Regions from separate parts of the Homo sapiens genome. Here region 1 is linked to region 2. The links are contacts of gene promoters, found by promoter capture Hi-C in blood cells and fetal thymus (Javierre and others, 2016). All regions are on one chromosome and are shown on one strand. The core of a region is centred on a gene start or on the middle of the fragment in contact, and the rest is flanking DNA. Distances in the headings are between cores, read along the strand shown. Region 1 has its middle 6.4 kb from the start of NALF2. Region 2 holds the start of GDPD2 (glycerophosphodiester phosphodiesterase domain containing 2).

The links. Contacts are between HindIII fragments. The CHiCAGO score rates a contact against its expected background, and 5 or more counts as called.
Region 1: a fragment that was not itself captured here is called in contact with the fragment with the promoter of GDPD2 in region 2 in 1 of 17 cell types (naive CD4 T cells); the score reaches 7.2 in naive CD4 T cells.

The regions. Positions count from the first base shown.
Region 1 is chrX:69,495,806-69,500,129 of GRCh38, reverse strand. No RefSeq gene overlaps it. Among named protein-coding and RNA genes, the nearest start is that of NALF2, 6.4 kb to the left of the region's middle. The HindIII fragment of the contact is 167 bases long and covers 2,736-2,902 here.
Region 2 is chrX:70,421,429-70,425,642 of GRCh38, reverse strand. GDPD2 (glycerophosphodiester phosphodiesterase domain containing 2) reads right to left here and starts at 2,329. Exons shown (of 16, transcript NM_017711.4): 1 at 2,261-2,329; 2 at 554-667; 3 at 186-289. The coding sequence starts at 658. RefSeq lists enhancers at 1,386-2,374, 2,375-3,363. The HindIII fragment of the contact is 11,609 bases long and covers 1-4,214 here.

The sequences.
Region 1 (4,324 bases), core at 1,570-4,069, 930 kb after region 2:
CAACATGGCTGCTACAGCTCTAAGCCTCATGTCTGCATTCTAGAGAAGAAGAAGGGAAAGAGCTAGGGGGCAAGAAGGCTAAGGACAAAGGATCTTCTAGAGGGGCTTTACATTTTTATTCCAAATGGAACGCCCTCTCCAGTGACATCCACCTACATCTCTGACTAGAACCATGTCATAAGGACATTCCTAGCTGCAAAGGAAGCTGGGAAATCCAGTACTTTTAGCTGGGCACACTGCTGCCCTGAACAAAATTGGGATTCTATAAGTAAGGAAGAAGAGAAAAATCATTATTAGGCAGGCAGTGAGTAGCAACTGCCATGAACCCTAACCACCAATTTCTTGCCTGAACTAAACCCCTAAGACACTGGGCTTTTGGCTACTAGACTTGACTTTCTCCTAGCAACTACAGCCGGGTTTATTCCTCTAGCACAGGATAGAAGAGCTCTGCCTGGTTTAACAACAGCACATGTGAAAAAGACCTTGATTTGATTGTAAAGTCAATGTGAGCCAACAGAGTGATGGTGCTGCCAACAGAGCTAATTAGATTTTAGGCTGCATTAATATAAGTAGAGAACCAGAACAAGAGAAGAGATGGTTCTGCCCTTCCCTACACTTGTCATGTCCTACCTGGAGCACTGTGCTCCATTCTGAACAACCCATTTAAGCTAGGATACAATGACAAGATGCAAGATGTCCAAAGGTAAGTCGCTGGGCTAGTGCACTAGTGGTCACGTCATACGAGGAACATTTGAAGGCCCCGAGCTTATTTCGTCTAGAGGTAAACAGACCCGGGAAAGAAACTGCATAGGGGAAGGATCAAAAGTAGTTATTCAGGTTAGGGTTCAGAGCCAGGGAGATTCCAGCAAGCAGGGTAGTATCAAGTGATTGAGTGAATGAGAGAGACATTGAGTGAATTGGGAGAGAGTCAATAACAATAAAAATGAACAGTTACATAGTGCTTAACATGCACCAGGTACTATTCTAAGCATTTACATATTTTAAGCCACTTAACCCTCTATGACAACAATTATGTGGGGTAGATCTACCGTTGTCTCTATTTTCTAGACACTGAGGTACAGACAGGTTAAGTCACTTGTCTAAGGTCATGCAGTTGGCAAGTGGCGAAGGGAGAATTTGAGTATATGCAGTCTGGTTCCGGAGTTCATGACTACTTGATCTCTTCTCAGAATAAACTTAGTGATTCTGGGTAATTGCCAAGATTCAAACACCAAATAACATTTTCAACTTCTTGATTGTTTGGCAGCTGTGGGTGAGCTGGGATAGATGGGGCTGGGACATGGACTTAAACCCAGGAGATTCCTCCTAGATATTTTAATATCTTCTCAGTCAAAACCAAGAGAAGTAAATGTTCACATTTTAACCCACCTTGGGCCCTTTCACTTTTACTTTCTAATATGAGGAATCTGACCTTATCCCTAAGTTGACAGAGTGGCCTCACCCTAGGATCCATCCCACTCTAGGCCACAAAGGTACCTAGATGGCTACCTCTAGGCTCACCACTACTCCAGAGCTTGGAGTGTACAGACCCTGCAGCTACTGAAACCAAATGAAGGATTTGGTTTCTGTCTCACTGGCTTCCCCACCCCTGACTGCAAGGCCCGCCATCATCCTAGGGGACTTCAGTATACAAATTAAAATTCAGCCATCACCTGGGCTTCCCGGTTCCTAAACTGCCCCATCTCTTCCACTCTACCTCAGCCACCCACCTCCATTGTCACAAACGGGACCTGCTCCACTATAAATCACCAATCTCAATCAAGCCTTCAACATTGCTTCACAATCCAAACAGGTACTAAATTTCTTTAGTACTTTTCATTCTCCAGGATGACTATTTCAAATCTTCTCCATTCTTTTCTTAAACCTCCAACCCCTGTGTCCACCCTCTCACTCTTAGCCAATAATCTTATGTCTTAGTCCATTTTGTGTTGCTCTAACAGAATACCTGAGAATGGCCTCAAGTGATCCTCCTGCCTAGGCCTCCCAAAGTTCTGGAATTGCAGGTGTGAGCCACCATGCCTGGCCCACACTGGCCACCTTTGAGTTCCAAATGCCATGTCTTTTTGGCCACAGGAGCTTTGCACATGCTGTTTCTTTTGCCTGAAACACTCTCTTTACTCCCTACCTCTAGCCACTTTGCCTGGCTAATCCTACTTAATACTCAGATTCCAGTTCCAGCATCACTTCCTCAGGGAAGATTTCCTTGACTAGTTCCTGCAGGCTAGGTCAGGTTCCCTTGTTAGATCCCTTGTAGAACTGTCTTCCTTTCTTCATAGCACTTATCTTAGATGCATTTACACCCTTATTTGCGTGATTCCTTGGTTAATCACTGTCTCTCCCACTACACTCCAGAATCCTTCAGAACAGGAACCATGTCTGTTTTTGTTCCTCCTTGTTTCTCTAGCTGCAAACACAATGCCTAGCACATAGATGCTCCGTATTTAGAATTAATTAATTAATAAACATTTCAAGTGAGAAAGTGAGACCATCCCAATTCCATTAGAGGAGTATGGCTTTACCTTAATGAATCTGCTAGCATGACTGTGTTTTAATACCAAACATGACCCACACCATGTAGAAACAGAAGGTTATTCTCTCATGTCTGCCTCCAGAGATAATGAATTCCTCTCAATGAAGGTATCTTCAAGCAGATATCTAAGGAGAAGTTGAATGACTGCTTATGGTGATATAGCCACAAGATGATCTCTAAAGCTTTTGACATCCAAGGTTTTGTGATTCTATGATTTGATGCATAGAGAGGGTGGCTTGAGCAAAGGGAATTCAGACACCCTCTAGGATGGAAAAGCCATGGAGAAAAGCACTTTAGGATTTTAGTCACATTGAGATTACCTCATTCATTTCTTTCCTTCCCACAAAAGCTTCTCTTCTAGTTTATACTTTGGAGGACCATTTTTTCCTATGTTAAAGATTGCCATAGGTAGAGGGTCTTTAATTTTCAAAGCTCTCTCAGTTTCAAGATTCACTGGAAATCTTGTTTCCAATTTTCATTTTTCCTGCTTAAATTGAAAGCTATTTCTTATGCCTCTCATAGCAAGGATGAAAGTACAGTGGTTCAGGTATATCCAAAGAGTTTTTAATAAAGGTTATTGTTTTGGGCTGAATGCAAGTCCCCACACTTCACAGTACAGAGAATTAAGATGCCAACTCTGATGAAATCAGACCCTTGTTGTACATGTGTGGGTAACTCTTGATATTTGGATGTTAAAGGTCTCATAGGGCTACAGTGTTGTCAGACTGTGGGGCCTATAAAGGTCATAGCCAAACCCCTCAACGTAGGGGGTTGGCACTCACTTGAACTGTCAGTTAATAAATGGTATCAATCAACAACTGAGTCCTAAGGATCACCTGGAAAAGAAATGCATTCTTCAGAGAGGGAACCAGAGCTGAGGGGGAGGACTCCAAGAAGACTGTGACGCAGGTTTCTGTAGTACTGGCCAGGGAGGGAACCCAGCCCTCAAACACTTGCCCCCTGAGGTTGGAGGTAAGAGGTGCCTACCCTGTGAGCACAGGTCAGGAATGGAGAGGGAAGGAGCCAGCCTTCTGCTGCTTTGGAGCCTGAATATAGTACAGACAGAATGTGTGAGTCTCAGAGAAAACTTGGCTGTGGTTGGCTCTGAGACATGTGCTGTGAAAGCTGGACTGTTTGGGTTTCTGGCATGTCCCTCTCCTTCTCCCAGACTGCTTCAGAAAGTTCTTTGTGCAGTTGCTTCCTGCTCACTCTACTGTGCCCAGGGAAAGCCAAGGATAGGCTTTGTGCCTCTCTCAGGCCAGAGTCTTAAAAAGAGAGTGACACATCGCTGGGGCATGTAGTATGTGGCAGCAGGGGCAAAAAGAAAGAGGCCAAGCCCTACCATGGAGTTCACTGTGGGGGTACTGGGAATGAGAGCTTCTCTCCTGCATGCCTCCTCCCCAAGATATTCGTTGCTTCAACCTGGGAGCCCCCAGGTTCTGTTTTACCAAGGAAGTGATGATGGTGAGATCAGACGGAGACCTAGGGCCCTAAGGGGAAAGGAGAAATTCAAAGGGTCAGAGTTGGGGGAAAACTAGAGCTGCTTCTTCCATAGATTCTCTCTTCAGTGCTATGAGTTTCTCCTTTCAAGGGAAGCAGCTTCTTTCTTCACTGAGTACTTTTTAATGGGTGAACATGAGACATACCTGTCAAGATAGAGGTAGATTTTCCATCTGGTAATGGGTAGATGGGACCCCTCTAGCACTGCTCTTCAGATCCTCTCTGGAGTCTGCTTCCCAGGCAGGGCAAGGCCTTGGCCAAAAGGCTCCTGGT
Region 2 (4,214 bases), core at 1,080-3,579:
CCAGGGGCTCCAAGGATTGAGGAGATTTTGTGGAGGGATTTTCTAAGGAGATTGGGTAGCAGCAGAGCTGGGTTTGAGCAGCTGGGCAGGGCTGGGGGATGACTGACAGTGGGCCACCCCCGGGTCCCAGGGTGGGGAGCAGGTTGACAGGTATGCTGGGGAAGCAGGGGGAATCCATGACACACTCATTGAAGTTGTGCAGGTCATTGAGAAGGACGAGCCCGATGTACAGCCAGCTCAGGGAAAGGAGGAAGGTGAGGAAGAGCAGGCCAAACCAGATACAGTCGCACTGCAAAGGGGCAGGAGAGAAACTCACAACCAATACCTACTTCAAACTCAGAGTCCCCAACGGGTGGCAGCTAAAGGGAGCTGCCTGCCCCGTGTTGGGCTGCTCTGCTCGGGGGGCAGCTCTTTCCATATTTGAGGGAGATTTTCTTCCTGGGAGAGAGAGCCCCTTCCCCCAAGCTGTCTATGAGCACAATTGGCCTCCTTATCCCCTCCAGTGAGCCTCTGCCTTCTGACTTCCAGCCTCCCCCCTCCATCCCTACTCCACCTTGCTGGTTTGCATCCTCTCTCTGGGGCATTTCCTCCAGTGGCAGCTATACAGGCAGTGGAGGCAGCGGGCCCAGACGGAGCAGCAGCCGGGGGACTCGGCCATGGTGAAGGCCTGGGGGAAGGGACACTCGACCATCAGGGACCCTGGCAGAGGGCAGATCCCAGTCTCCCTCCTAGTGTATCTGAGGAGCCCGGGGGAGAGGCAGAGGCCTGGGCCGCTGCTCAGCAACGGAGGTCACGGGGCAGGCCCAGAGTGCCAGAGTGGATGAGGCGAGCAGCCCCAGCTGCAAGCCTGGCAATGGGAGACAGTCTCCAGAGCCTTCGTTTCCCTTTAATCTTGTTACCTGGAGAGTCAGTGGGACACCCAAGAGGTCCAGCCTCTTTTCGGGCAGGATTCATATCCACTCTCTCCAGCTCCTCCCCATTTAACAGCACACACCTCTGGGGATGGAGTGCTTGCCCTGGGGGTAAGAACTCAAGAGAAACTGCCCAGGGTGGGACAAACTCAGTTCAGCAAGTTAAAGCAGGTTTGGCCAAGCTGGAGGCAACCCCATGTTGAATTGCTTTCCAGCCCAGGAAGCAGGAGTAACCTGAAGCAAAGGTTACAGTTCTGACCTGGGGCTAAGGAAGGCCCAGCTAGTTGGCCAGTTGCTATGGTTATAGAGATTATTCAGATCACAAATCCCTGAAAGATTCTCTGTGTCCACCTCTCAGGGGACAAAGGGCACTGCCAAAAAGAGAAAGACTTGAGGTGAACATGTTGCCTGGGTCACTCCCAGTCTTCTAAAGGAATCTTTGGATTTTCAAAATACAGAGCCTCCCCTCAAGTCCTGCCCTTTCCTGCCCAGTCATCCCCCAACCCCAACCAGAAGCCCAGACTCGCCTTTAGGAGCCCCACCCTCTAAGTTAGCTTTGGTGAAAGTACAACAAACGCAGGGCAAAGGTGTGTATGCGGGGTGTGGTTGTCTTGGGGCAGGGGACCCCTGTACCTTATGCTTCTGGGTTTGGCTGACTGAGCTGATCCCCAGACTTGGCTGGGTACGTGACTGATTCTACGCGAGACGGTATGTGATTTGTGTCAGCATTTGCACGCGACAGCACAACTGGCTGTCGGTACAATATGATTTTAGGTGACTTTGAGTATGTAAAGGAGCCCCTGGATACACCCAAAGTGTGTGAGCATGTGTGCGTGCGGGCTGAGGGACAGGACCTCTTGTCCTCAGAGCTCTCCCGAGGCTATGGAGTCTTAGAGGGGTGCACAGTGGGTGGGTCCGGTAAGCAGGAAGGTGTGGCTGCTTCTGAACTGCCCTCTTTATGCTGCCTTGGGAAAGGAGGGTTAGGGTAGGGGTGAGGAGCTGGAGCTGGGGGAAGGAAACCCCTCCCCTCTACGAGACCCTTCCCGGTAAAAAGCCAACCCAAAGGGAAGCCCTTGCCTCTGCCCATCTTGGAGCTGGTTTGATAGCCTGCTCTAAGCTCTTGCCTCCCCTGGGGTCCTACCCCTGCACCCCAGACACTGCCTTCCAGAGTCCCCTCCCTTCAGGAGCTGCCTGTAGGATGGGATCAGGGTCTGAGCAGCCTGAAAACCCCAAGTAGGGTTGCTGACAGGGGTGCCATTCAATCCCCCGGCCCAATCCCAGTGGGATGGAGCTGGTCTCTGCTCCACAGCTCCCACCTGTAGCCCCCCAGCCTTCCCGAACCCTCACACCTTTGCTCAGCGGCAGCTCCGCTCCGCTCTCCTCTCTGCACTGCTTCCCAGCTCCTCTCCGAGTGGTCTGCCTCCTCCCTTTTTCAGTCCTCGGTTCAGCCCTATGAGTCAAACAGGTGGCACTGTTGCCACCTACAGGAGGCTGTGTGGGTCCTCTCCCAAGGCCTGCAGCTGCTCTGTGGCCTGGGCACAGCCCGGGTGGGAAGATGGGAGGGAGGAAGCGGGAGGGAGAGCAAATCTGCTTCTTTACTCGCTGGCGGTCAGGGGGCTTGGGGTGAGGAATTCCTTTGTGCAGGCTTTCCCATCCCTCTGTCCCTCCTCCTGTTCCCCTCCCAGTCACTGCCGGGGCTTTGTCCTGGCTCAGGGAGGCGAGGGCTGAGGGCACAGGCTGGCGGGAAGCTGGTGTGTGTGGGGGGGGGAGGTGACCACACAACTTTGCAACTTGGCAGTGAGGAGAAGAGGCCCAGCCAGCCCACTGGAAAGGCGTGTGTGTGTGTGTGTGTGTGCGTGTGTGTAAGCCTAACATCAAGTCTCAAGCTCCCTGGAAATACAGCCTTGATTCATTAGGCTCCCTCCCCTATTGAGCTCCTACTTCTAATTCAGCAAGGTGCATGTATAAGAAGCTGCAGCCTGGCGCGGTGTCTTACACCTGTAACCCCAACACTTTGGGAGGCCGAGGCGGGTGGATCACCTGAGGTCAGGAGTTCAAGACCAGCCTGGCCAACATGGTGAAACCCTGTCTCTACAAAAAATACAAAAATTAGCCAGGCATGATGGTGTGCACCTACCAAAGACTAGGTAGTTGCATGGGACATCTCACAAGGCCAGGTTTAAAGCAAAGACAAGCCTTGGTCATTTGTCCCAGCTACTTGGGAGGCTGATGTGGGAGGATTGCTTGAGCCCAGGACGTCGAGGCTGCAGTGAGTTGAGATTGTGCTACTGTGCTCCAGCCTGGGCAACAGAAGCTGCAAGCTACTTCCTGAACTCTGGATAGCAAGTTGCCGTTTCTGGACCAGAGGTCCCCATGGGCCTTGTGGATCCTGGGTGACACTAGCAGTTCTCCCACCTTCCCTCATCACCCCAGACAGGAGATGCTCATTCAGGACTTGTGTCATTTCTGCTGCCTTGTCCCTAAGGCATATGAGTCTCTTTCCAAGAATCTTTTGAGGAGTGTAGAGTATATTGGGGTCACAGGCTTTTGGAAGATGAACACATAGAAAAGATGCTGTTACTATAGCATCAGCATCAGCAGGGAAGGGCTGGCTAGCACACTATAGTTTGCTTAGTGCTAAAGCACAGGGGTCTGGGTGGGATGGGGGCCAGGGGCTGGCTTGGTTGACCTCTCCCTCTACATTACGCCTGATGTGGTGACTCGAGGTCTGGGGGCTATTAGTGCAGTGTTGGTGGGAAAGGATGTTTTCTCTGGGGATAAGCCTGCTTACCCCTCCCCCAACACACACTGGATTTCAAACAGTGAGAAGGAAGACTGGCTCTCTTATGCCAAGAGCTGGCCCCCCTCCCACTCAGGCTTCCCATTGTATCCAGAGGCTCTAGTTGGCAATGGCAGAGGCTCCCTTGCTCCCTCGGCATTAAAATGCAAAGAGAAGCAGGGCTGCTTGCTGGCAGGAGGCCAGGGAGGACCAGCAGGTCACCTAGTCCATGGCAGGCTTCATTCTAGGCAGATTGTTGCTCAATTTCTTTTGCTTGGGCTCTGGTGGATTCTAGAGGAGTCTTGGCTTTTGAGTGTTTGGGGATGGTTTGGGAGCTTTTTTGGGGAGAAGGGTTTTGGGATTCAGAATGCATGGATATGAAGCGCAGGGCTTGTGAGCATCTACCTCAGAAGGCTACAAGGCCAGTCAGCAGCTTGTGTATGGCATTCCAGGGCTGGCCCCCTTTTAGCTTTAAGCAGAGATAGAGAACACTGATAGACTGTAAGGCGTAAGCATCTTTCAAA